Linked DNA regions of Homo sapiens: region 1 is linked to region 2. The links are contacts of gene promoters, found by promoter capture Hi-C in human tissues and cell types (Jung and others, 2019). All regions are on one chromosome and are shown on one strand. Each heading gives the region's core, a stretch centred on a gene start or on the middle of the fragment in contact. The rest is flanking DNA. Distances are from core to core; before and after follow the strand shown.

Evidence for each region. Contacts are between HindIII fragments. The study calls those that stand out against the background at their distance.
Region 1: a contact is called between a fragment that was not itself captured here and the fragment with the promoter of HGSNAT in region 2, in 2 of the 25 tissues and cell types used here (lymphoblastoid cells and mesendoderm cells).

The regions. Positions count from the first base shown.
Region 1 is chr8:43,776,497-43,781,527 of GRCh38, reverse strand. No RefSeq gene overlaps it. Among named protein-coding and RNA genes, the nearest start is that of POTEA, 490 kb to the right of the region's middle. The HindIII fragment of the contact is 5,824 bases long and covers 1-5,031 here.
Region 2 is chr8:43,137,960-43,142,578 of GRCh38, reverse strand. HGSNAT (heparan-alpha-glucosaminide N-acetyltransferase) reads right to left here and starts at 2,115. Exons shown (of 18, transcript NM_152419.3): 1 at 1,965-2,115. The coding sequence starts at 2,082. RefSeq lists silencers at 1,136-1,515, 1,526-2,315 and an enhancer at 3,159-3,453. The HindIII fragment of the contact is 19,681 bases long and covers 1-4,619 here.

The DNA of each region.
Region 1 (5,031 bases), core at 1,287-3,786, 640 kb before region 2:
TCACAGGTAGCTTCCTTCTAGTTTTTATCTGGGGTTATTCTGTTTTTCCCCATAGGCCTAATGGGCTCCCAAATGTCCATTCACAGATTCTCCAAAAAGAGTGTTTCCAATGCTCTGAATTGAAAGAAAGTTTTAACTTTGTGAGATGAATCTGAAAATCAGAAATCAGTTTCTCACATAGCTTCTTTCTACTTCTTATCTGGTGATATTCATTTCTTTTTTTTTCATAGACTTTAATGGACTAGAGACTGTCCCTTCACATATAATCAGAAAGGGTGATTCCAACCTGCTGAAGCAAAAGATAGTTTTAACCCTGTGACTGGAATTCACACATCACAAAGCAGTTTCACAGATAGTTTCTATCTAGTTTTTACCTGGAGATATTCAGTTTTTCCCCGTAGTCCCCAGTGGGTTCCAAAATGACCCTTCACAGGAGCTCCAAAGATATTGTTTCCAAGATGCTGAATCAAAAGAAAGGTTTCACTCTGTCAGATGAATCCACAAATCACTAAGCAGCTTATTTCAATTTTTTTTCTTGGGATATTTGATTTTCCTCCATAGGACTCAAGGGCTCCCAAATATTCCATCAAGGATTCTCCAGAAACAGTGCTTTCTACCTGCTGAGTCAAAAGGAAAGTTTAAGTCTGTGAGATGAATGCACATATCACAAAGCAGTTTCACAGATAGTTTCTTTTTAGTTTTTATCTGGTGATATTTGGTTTTTCCCCATAAATCTCACTGGGCTCCAAAATGTCTCTCTGCAGATTCTCCAAAGAGTGTTTCCAACCTGCTGAATCAAAAGAAAGGGTTAGTTCTTTGAGATGAATCCACAAATCACAAAGCAGTTACACAGATAGCCTCTTTCTAATTTTCTTCTGGGTATATTCTGTTTTTCCCCATAGGCGACAATGGGCTCCAGAATGTTTCTTCGCAGATTCTCCAAAAAGAGTGTTTCCAACATTCTGAATCAAAAGAAAGGTTGAACTCTGTGAGATAAATCCACATATCACAAAGCAGTTTCACAGATAGTTTCTTTCTAGTTTTTTCTGGGGATATTCAGTTTTGTGCCATAGGCCTCAATTGGCTCTCAACTGTCCCTTCAGAGATTCTCCAAAAAAAGTCTTTCCAACGTGCTGAATTGAAAGAAAGTTTTAACTTTGTGAGATGAATCTAAAAATCACAAATCAGTTTCTCATATAGCTTCTTTCTACTTCTTATCTGGCGACATTCATTTTATTTTCATAGACCTCAGTGGACTAGAGACTGTCTCTTGACATACAATCAGAAGGGTGTTTCCAACCTGCTGATGCAAAAAACAGTTTTAACTCTGTGATTTGAATTCACACATCACAAATCAGTTTCACAAATAGCTTCTATCTAGCTTTTATATGGAGATATTTGGTTTTTCTCTATAGTCCTCAATGGGCGCCCAAGTATCTCTTCACATATTCTACCAAAAGAGTGCTTCCAACCTGCTGAATCAAAACGGAGGTTTAGCTCTGTGAGATGAACCCACACAATACAAAGCAGTTTCACAGATAGCTTCTTTCTAGTTTTTATCTTGGGATATTCTGTTGTTCCAAGTAGGCCTTGTTGGTTGCTTAAACGTCCCTTACAGATCCTCCAAAAAGAGTGGTTCCAAGCTGGTGAATCAAAAGAGAGTTTTAACTCTCTAAGATGAATCCACACATTGCAAAGCAGTTTCACAGGTAGCTTCTTTCTATTTTTATCTGGGGATATTCAGTTTTTCACCTAGGCCCTGATGGACTCCCAAATGTCCCTTCACAAATTCTGTAAAAAGTGTGTTTCCACCCTGCTGAATGAAAAGAAATGTTTAACTCTGTAATGGGAGTCCACACATAACAAAGCAGATTCATGGATAGCTTCTTTCTAGTTTTATCTGTGATATTTTGTTTTCCACCATAGGCCTCAATGGAAGATTTAACTCTGTGAGAGGAATCCACATGGAACAAAGCAGTTTCACACATAACTTCTTTCTAGTTTTCATCTGTGGACATTCGATTATTCCCCTTAGCTCTCAATGGGCTCCCAAATGTGCCTTCGGAGATTCTCCAAAAAATGTGTTTCCAACCTGCTGAATCAAAAGAAAGGTTTAACTCTGTGAGATAAATCCACATATCACAAAACAGCTTCACAGATAGCTTCTTTCTAGTTTTTATCTGGGGATATTTCCTTTTTATCCATATACCTCAATGTGCTTCCAAATGTCCTTTCACACATTCTCCAAAAAGAGTGTTTGCAACCTGCTGAATCACAAGAAAGGTTTAACTCTGTGAGAAGAATCACCACATCACAAAGCAGTTTCAGAGATAGTTTCTTTCTAGTTTTGCTTTGGGAATATTCTTTTTTTTTCACATAGGGCTAATTAGCTCTGAAATGTCCCTTTGCAGATTCTCAAAAATAGGATTACCACTCTGCTGAATCAAAACAAAGTTTTAATTCTGTGTGATGTATCCACACATCAAAAAGCAGTTTCAAAGAAAGCTTCTTTCTAGTTTTTATCTTAGGATATTCAGTTTTTCTCCTCGGCTTCAATGGGCTTCCAAATGTCCCTTCACATGGCTTCCAAATGTCTGTGCTTCCAAGCTCTGAATCAAAGGAAAGTTTTAATTCTGTTAGACGAATCCACACCTACAAAAGCAGTTTCACAGATAACTACGTTCTAGCTTTTTTCAGGGGATATACACTTTTTCCCCTTTGACCTCAATGGCAAGTAAATGTCCCTTCACAGATTTTCCAATAAGAGTGTTTCCAACCTACTGAATCAAAAGAAAACTTTAACTCTGTGAGAGGAATCCCCTCACAAAAGCAGTTTCACAGATACCTCTTTTAACTTTTATCTGGGGGTATTTGGTTTTTCCCCATAGGCATTTGATGGGTTCCCAAATATCTCTTCTCAGATTCTGCAAAAAGAGTGTTTCCAACCTACTTATTCAAAACTAAGGTTTAATTCTGTGAGATGAATACAAATATCACAACGTCGTTTCAGTCAGTTTCTTTCTACTTTTTATCTTGGGATATTCAGGTTTCTCCATAGACCACAGTGGATTTTAAAATGTCCTTTCACAGTTCTCCAAAAAGAGTATTTCCAACTTACTGACTCAAAAGAAAGATTTAACTTTTTGAAATAATTCCATACTTGAAACAACAGTTTCACAGATAGCTTCTTTGTAGTTTTTATCTCAGGATATTCAGTTTCTCCCTGTAGGCCTCAATGAGCTCTCAAATGTCCATTAGCAGATTCTACAAACAGAGTGTTTTCAACCTGTTGAATCAAAAGAAAAATTTAACTCTGAGATGAATCCACACATTACAAAGCAGTTTCACAAATAGCATCTTTCTAGTTTTTAATCTGGTGATATTTGGCTTTTCTCCGTGGTCTCATTGGGCTCCAAAATGTCCCTTTGCAGATTCCCCAAAAATAGTGTTTTTAACTGGTGGAATGAATAGAAAGGTTTGCCTTCAGGAGATGAATCCACACATCACAAAGCAGTTTTATGGAAAGCTTCTTTCTAGTTTTTATATAGAGATATTCCATTTTTCCCCATTAGCCTAAATGGGCTCCCAAATGTCCCCTCACAGATTTTCCAGAAAGAGAGTTTTCAAAGTGCTGAATCAAAAGAATGGTTTAACTCTGTGAGATGAATCCACACAACAGAAATCAGTTTCTCAGATAGGTTCTTTCTAGTTTTTATCTGTGGATATTCAAGTTTTTCTTATAATGCACAAATGGCTTAAATATGTCCCTTCACAGATTCTCAAAAGAAAGGCTTCACTCTTTAAGACGAATCCACACATCACAAAAGAATTTCACAGATAGCTTCTCTCTAATTTTTATCTGGGCATATTCTGTTTATCTGGGCATAACTTCAATGGTCTCCCAACTGTCCCTTCACAGTTTCTCCGTAAATAGTGTTTCCTACCTGCTGAATTAGTGGAAAAATTTAACTCTGGGATAGGAATGCACATATCACAGAGCAGTTTCACACTTTGCTTCTTTCTAGTTTTTATTTGGGGATATTCGGTTTTTCACCATAATGATCAATGGGCTACAAAATGTCTGCTTGTGTATACTCCAAAAACAGTGTTTCCACACTGCAGAATCAAAAGAAAGGTTTAATTCTGTGAGATGAATCCACACTTCAGAAGCAGTTTCACAGATAGCTTGTTTCTAGTTTTAATCTGGGGATATTCAGTTTTTTCCCATAGGCCTTAATGGGCTCTCAAATATCTTGTCACAGATTCTACAAAAAGAGTGTTTCCAACCTGCTGAATCAAAAGAAAGGTTTAGCTCTGTGAGATTAACCCACATATCACAAAGCAATTTTACAGATAGAGTCTTCCTAGCTTTTATCTGGAAATATTTGCTTTTCCCCATAGGCCTCAAAGGGCTCCCAATTGTCTCTTTGCAGATTCTCCAAAAAGAGCGTTTCCAACCTGCTGGATAAAAAAAATGGTTTAACTCTCTAAGATGAATTCAGACAAAACAAAGCAGTTTCATAGATAGGTTCTTTGTAGTTTTTATCTGGGGATATTCTGTTTTTCTTACAGGCCTCAATGGGCTACCAATTGTCCCTTTGCAGATTCTCCAAAATGTGTGTTTCAAACCTACTGGATCCAAAAAAATGTTTAATTCTCTGAGATGAATCCACACAATGCAGACCAGTTTCACAGATATCTTCTTTGTAGTTTTTATCTGTCAATATTTGCTTTTTACCTACAGGCTTCTATGGGCTTCCAAAATCTTTTCACAGGTTCTCCAAATAGAGTGTTCCAAACTGCTGGATGAAAAGAGAAGTTTAACTCAGTGAGAAGAATCCACACAACACAAAGCAGTTTCACAGATAGATTCTTTCTAGTTTTTATTGGGGATAATCTGTTGTTACTTATAGGCCTCATTGGGCTCCAAAGTATCCCTTTGTAGATTGTACTGAAAGAGTACTTACAATCTGCAATATCAAAGAAAGGCTTACCTCTGTGAGATGAATCCACACATCACAAAGTGGGTTC
Region 2 (4,619 bases), core at 866-3,365:
CCACAGCTAGGGAACCACAGCTAGAGACTGTCAGAGTAACGCCAGCGGATTTTGACACCTTTTTTTTTCACTTTGCATTATTTGAATGTGGTTTTTAAAAATAATAATAACAGTCTGTATCACTTACAGACACGACCAAAGGACCCAATTACTAAGCCATCAAATAAGTCATCAAATATGACCTCGAAACTGAGCTTGATGTTCAGCTTCAAGAAAAAGCTGTCACCTTCCCACACAGCAGCTGACCTAAGAAATTCCAGGGCAATACCCCCAGAGCGTTACAGACAAAAGAACAATTATTTCCTTCTCTCTCCTCTGGTCTACCTCGTCTTGGTGGGCAAATTACCAAATAAAGTCACCTTCCAATGGTGCGGGGATAAATGTGCTGCTTGTGTATTACACCTTTATTTCCTTTCCAAATATTTAATTTCTGGTCTAGCTCTCTGCTCGTGAGTTATCTTTGCTGGGCATATTTTTAAAGACATAGTCTACTTTTTTTTTTCTTCAAGCAAATGCTGAATTTTCAAAAAGAAGGAAGATGATGACGTTTTTAGTAGGAAAGCTGTGCGGCCCAAACATGGGCTCCAGGTGACAGGGAAAGCCTTGCGGTCCCAACGCGGCTTCCCCTCACTACGTGTGATTACTATTTACAAACCACCTCTCTCTAAAAGTAAGTGCCCTTTGATAAGCTAATACTGGCGCTAAAATGCAAAGAGTGTTCGGCGGGATCAGTCCCTGACAAATTGTGATCAGGCAGATTACATAACCTCCCCGGGGTCCTTGCAATTTTAAAGGAGGGGAGCGCAGGAGATGAAGGTTGGGTGGATCAAGGATCGCACAAAATGTAATCCTCTGAGCCGCTTTTCCAAAATTCACAACGCCTTTCTCCTCCAGCTTCTGCTTGGAGAGGAGGGGTCGTTTGAACTCCATACACAGACACTAAAACTTCGTATTCTGACCAAGAAAAGGGCGCGAGAGGGGAAAGACAGGTGACTCCCACCGTCCCTCCTACCCAAAGGGGTTTGCGATGCTTGCCCGACCCCTCTGGGAGGGGCGTGTGCGAAGGACCTAGGGCCTGGGGCTCCCCGGTGCAGGGGTCTAGATGGAGACCTGGAATCTGTATTTGTCACCGTTTTCCCCACCGAGTTCGGAGAGCAAGCCAGTTGTGCAATCACGGTATGAGCTGAGCGCCTCTTAAGCCAGCGCACCGGACAAACGCCCGGGGTCCGGGGCCCGGGGCAAAAGCGCCCAGCCCGGCCCCTCCCAGGCGGCGGCGGCGGCGGCGGCGGCTTCCCAGTCACCCTGGAGGGAAAACGCGCCGAGGGGAGACGCGCGGAGGGCTCGCCCGGGACCGGGCTGCAGGCCGCGCCCCCACCGCCTTCTCCGCGGTTCCTCACCCGCCGCACATCCACGCAGGTTCAACCCCAGCGCGGGGCGAACGCGCGTCCCGGCCCCAGGCTTCCCACCCGCTGAAGCCAATGGGTCGCACGGCTCCGGCGCCACGTCCTCGGGGGCGAGGCCCTCAGGGAAGGGACCCTGCTCTAAGTCCCTCCGAACAGTGGACTGGGTGCAGGGGGAGTCCGAGCCCCCCCGATCCTCGGCTGGCCCGCCTCCTGGCTGCCAGTTTGTGGGGTCCCGGCGTCCCGATCCGCGGCCTCTGTTTAGACGGAAGGCGCCAGGACGCAGGCTCCGCTGGGGTGGGCGCCGCCTGGGCGCCCAGGTTCCACTCCGCCGCGGTCCGAACCGCCCCCTCCCCCGCCTCCGCGGGGCCCGGCCGCAGCACCCCGAAGTCCGGCCTCCGGTCTGGGGCGCGGGACCGCGAAGTCGCAGCAACAGCCCAGGCCACGGGGGCGGTTCCGGCCCGGCCTAGCGCTCGGCGCCGCGCACGGAGATAGGGGCGGCGCCGCGGAGAGGAGACGCTGCGCTCGTAGCCGGCCGGGCGGCGGTAGGAGGTGTGCACTCACCTCGTGGCGGCGCGGCCTGGGCATCGCGCCCCGAAGAGCCGCCGGGGGCCAGCAGCGCGGCGCTCAGCACGGACGCGGCCAGCAGCAGCGCGGCCAGCGCCCTGCCCGCCCCGCTCATGCCCGCCGCCCGCTCGGCCGCCCTTGCCTGCCCGCTGCGCCCCGCCCTGCGCTGCTCCGCCGCGGACGCCCGCGCGCCCGTCATCGCCCCCTCCGCTGCCGTCACCGCCGCCTGAGTCACCGCGGGAGGCGGAGGCGCCCGGGAGCCGCGGGCGGGGGAACCTAGGGGCTGGGCCGGGCCATGCTAGGCCCTGCCTTGAGGGAGCTGGCCAGGAAAGAAGCCGAGGCTCTGCGCCCCTGCGTTGGGAGTGTTTGTCTTCGGGAGGAAAAACAGCCGGAAGAGAGGCCCCTGCAGGCCAGGAGCCTTCTTCCCTCGCCCCACCTTCTCCAGCCGCATTCTGCCAAACTCCCGCCCCCGCCGGCCACCCTCCGCACGGGTGTTAGAGCCCTCGGTCCCTGTTTTGGAAAACGCCTCAATAAGCAAGACTGCAAAGTCCCTGCCCCCAAGGCGTTTATTACCCAGAGGGAGAGGCACGACTTAGAAGCCACCAAGCGGCCCCACCTCTTGAAAGAGCCCCCGGCCAGGCTGACGAAGTGGAAGGGAGCAGGTCGAGGAGTGTGCACACCCATTCTTGGCTGTATGCCGGGAGACACTATCGCAGGTATAAGGGACAGGTACAGTAATACCTATAGCAGAGGTGCTTGTAATTGCAAAACCTTGTCAACAAGCTGAATGTCCGCCAGCGAGAAAACAAACTGCCCCACAGCAGGGGAAGTGCTCTACAGCTTCCCGCATCCACATGGATAAATCTCAAAACACAAGGCTGGGGAAAATGCAAATTGCAGAATGCCTTTTTAATATATAAAGCAAAACAATAATGTATGTTGTTTAGGGACATCCATATATGTAATAAAAATACAAAGGCACACATGAAAATGTTGCGGGACTTTTCCTTAGTTCAGCTAAAGACGGTGGAGGTCCTTGTCACACGCCAGGAAAGATTAGGCTCGCAGACAATTTGAAGGGTAAGGCAGGGTTTTATTGGGTGTAAAGGAAGAAAAAGGGGAACAGGGACTCAGCAGAGCCAGAGTTCTCCTAGTTGTAGGCTTCCCACCTCACAGATTAAATCCCAGGTTCTCCCGAGGAAGAGGAGGGCCAGGCTCCTCCCAGCTGCAAACTGAGGAGCGAACTTCTGTGGCTCCACCCCAGAGCAGTGCACAGGCCAGTTGGAGTTTTACCAGGGAACCCTTCCCATCTGGCTCATTCCTCGCTCTAAAGAAGTCTATCTAACTGCCACTAGGATAAGAATAGGGACAAAGACAGATCTTAACTGCTTCCTGCTGATAGGGGGCACTGTTTCGGGAAAATGGCAATCAGATCTCCCTCAGAGGCCTATCTAAGGGTGCCCAGCAGAAGGGGCCATGGTCCGAGCTTCCAGTAGCATGACCGTTTGATGTCCTGAAGGCAAGAAGAGACAAACTGGGTTATTAAACACATATGGCCGGGCACAGTGGCTCACGCCTGTAATCCCAGCACTTTGGGAGGCCAAGGCAGGTGGATCACGAGGTCAAGAAATCGAGACCATCCTGGCCAACATGGTGAAACCCTGTCACTACTAAAAATACAAAAAATTAGCCGGGCGTCATGGCAAGTACCTGTAGTCCCAGCTACTTGGGAGGCTGAGGCAGGAGAATCACTTGAATCCGGGAGGCAGAGTTTGCAGTGAGCCAAGATTATGCCACTGCACTCCAGCCTGGCAGGTCAGGAGTTCAAGACCAGCCTGGCCAACATGGTGAAACCCTGTCTCTACTAAAAATACAAAAATTAGCCAGCAGTGGTGGTGCCTGCCTGTACTCCCAGCTACTTAGGAGGTTGAGGCAGGAGAATCGTTTGAACGGAGGTTGCAGTGAGCCAAGACCACATCACTGCACTCCAGCCTGGGCGACAGAGTGAGACCCTGTCTCAAAAAAAAAAAGAAAAGAAAAGAAACAAGGGGAGGGATAAGGACAGCTCAAAAATCCTGAGGCTTTTTACCAATTTGTACACGGAGAAGGGGGCCAAAAGTCCGAATGGTAAACAACTTTACCCTTTTGCTGGCATGTTGGGCTTCTGGGTTCCCTTCCCCTGAAACCAATCCTAAGCCAGCCAGTTTAAGGTTTAGGAAATTAACTCTTTCCAGTTTGGAAAATGCATCTGAGGGGAGTGTCCCATAGTATGGAGACACAATTAGGATTGTCATTGTGAACCGAGGAGGAGAAAGGAAAAAAGAAGGCATTTTTTCAAAGGAATCCGAAGGGTTCCAGATGCATTTGAAAGTGGTGCAGACTGAAGATAAATGGCTACCCACATAGAAAGAGGGGAGCAGGCATCCCTGGTTCTTTTCCTAGCAAATACCTGGGGTACGTGAGGGATAGAAGGAATAGCGTCCTCTTCCATCCTTGCATCCCCATGCAACCTTCGAAAGTGCTACCATGGGTGCCAAAATGGCTTGCATCCATGAAGCAGGGGTCTAGAGGGTGGGAATTATCTCCTCTACCCATGAATGCCCTATCACCCCTGCTGTCAGTAGTCTTGGAGTTCCCTAGACCTCACTTATG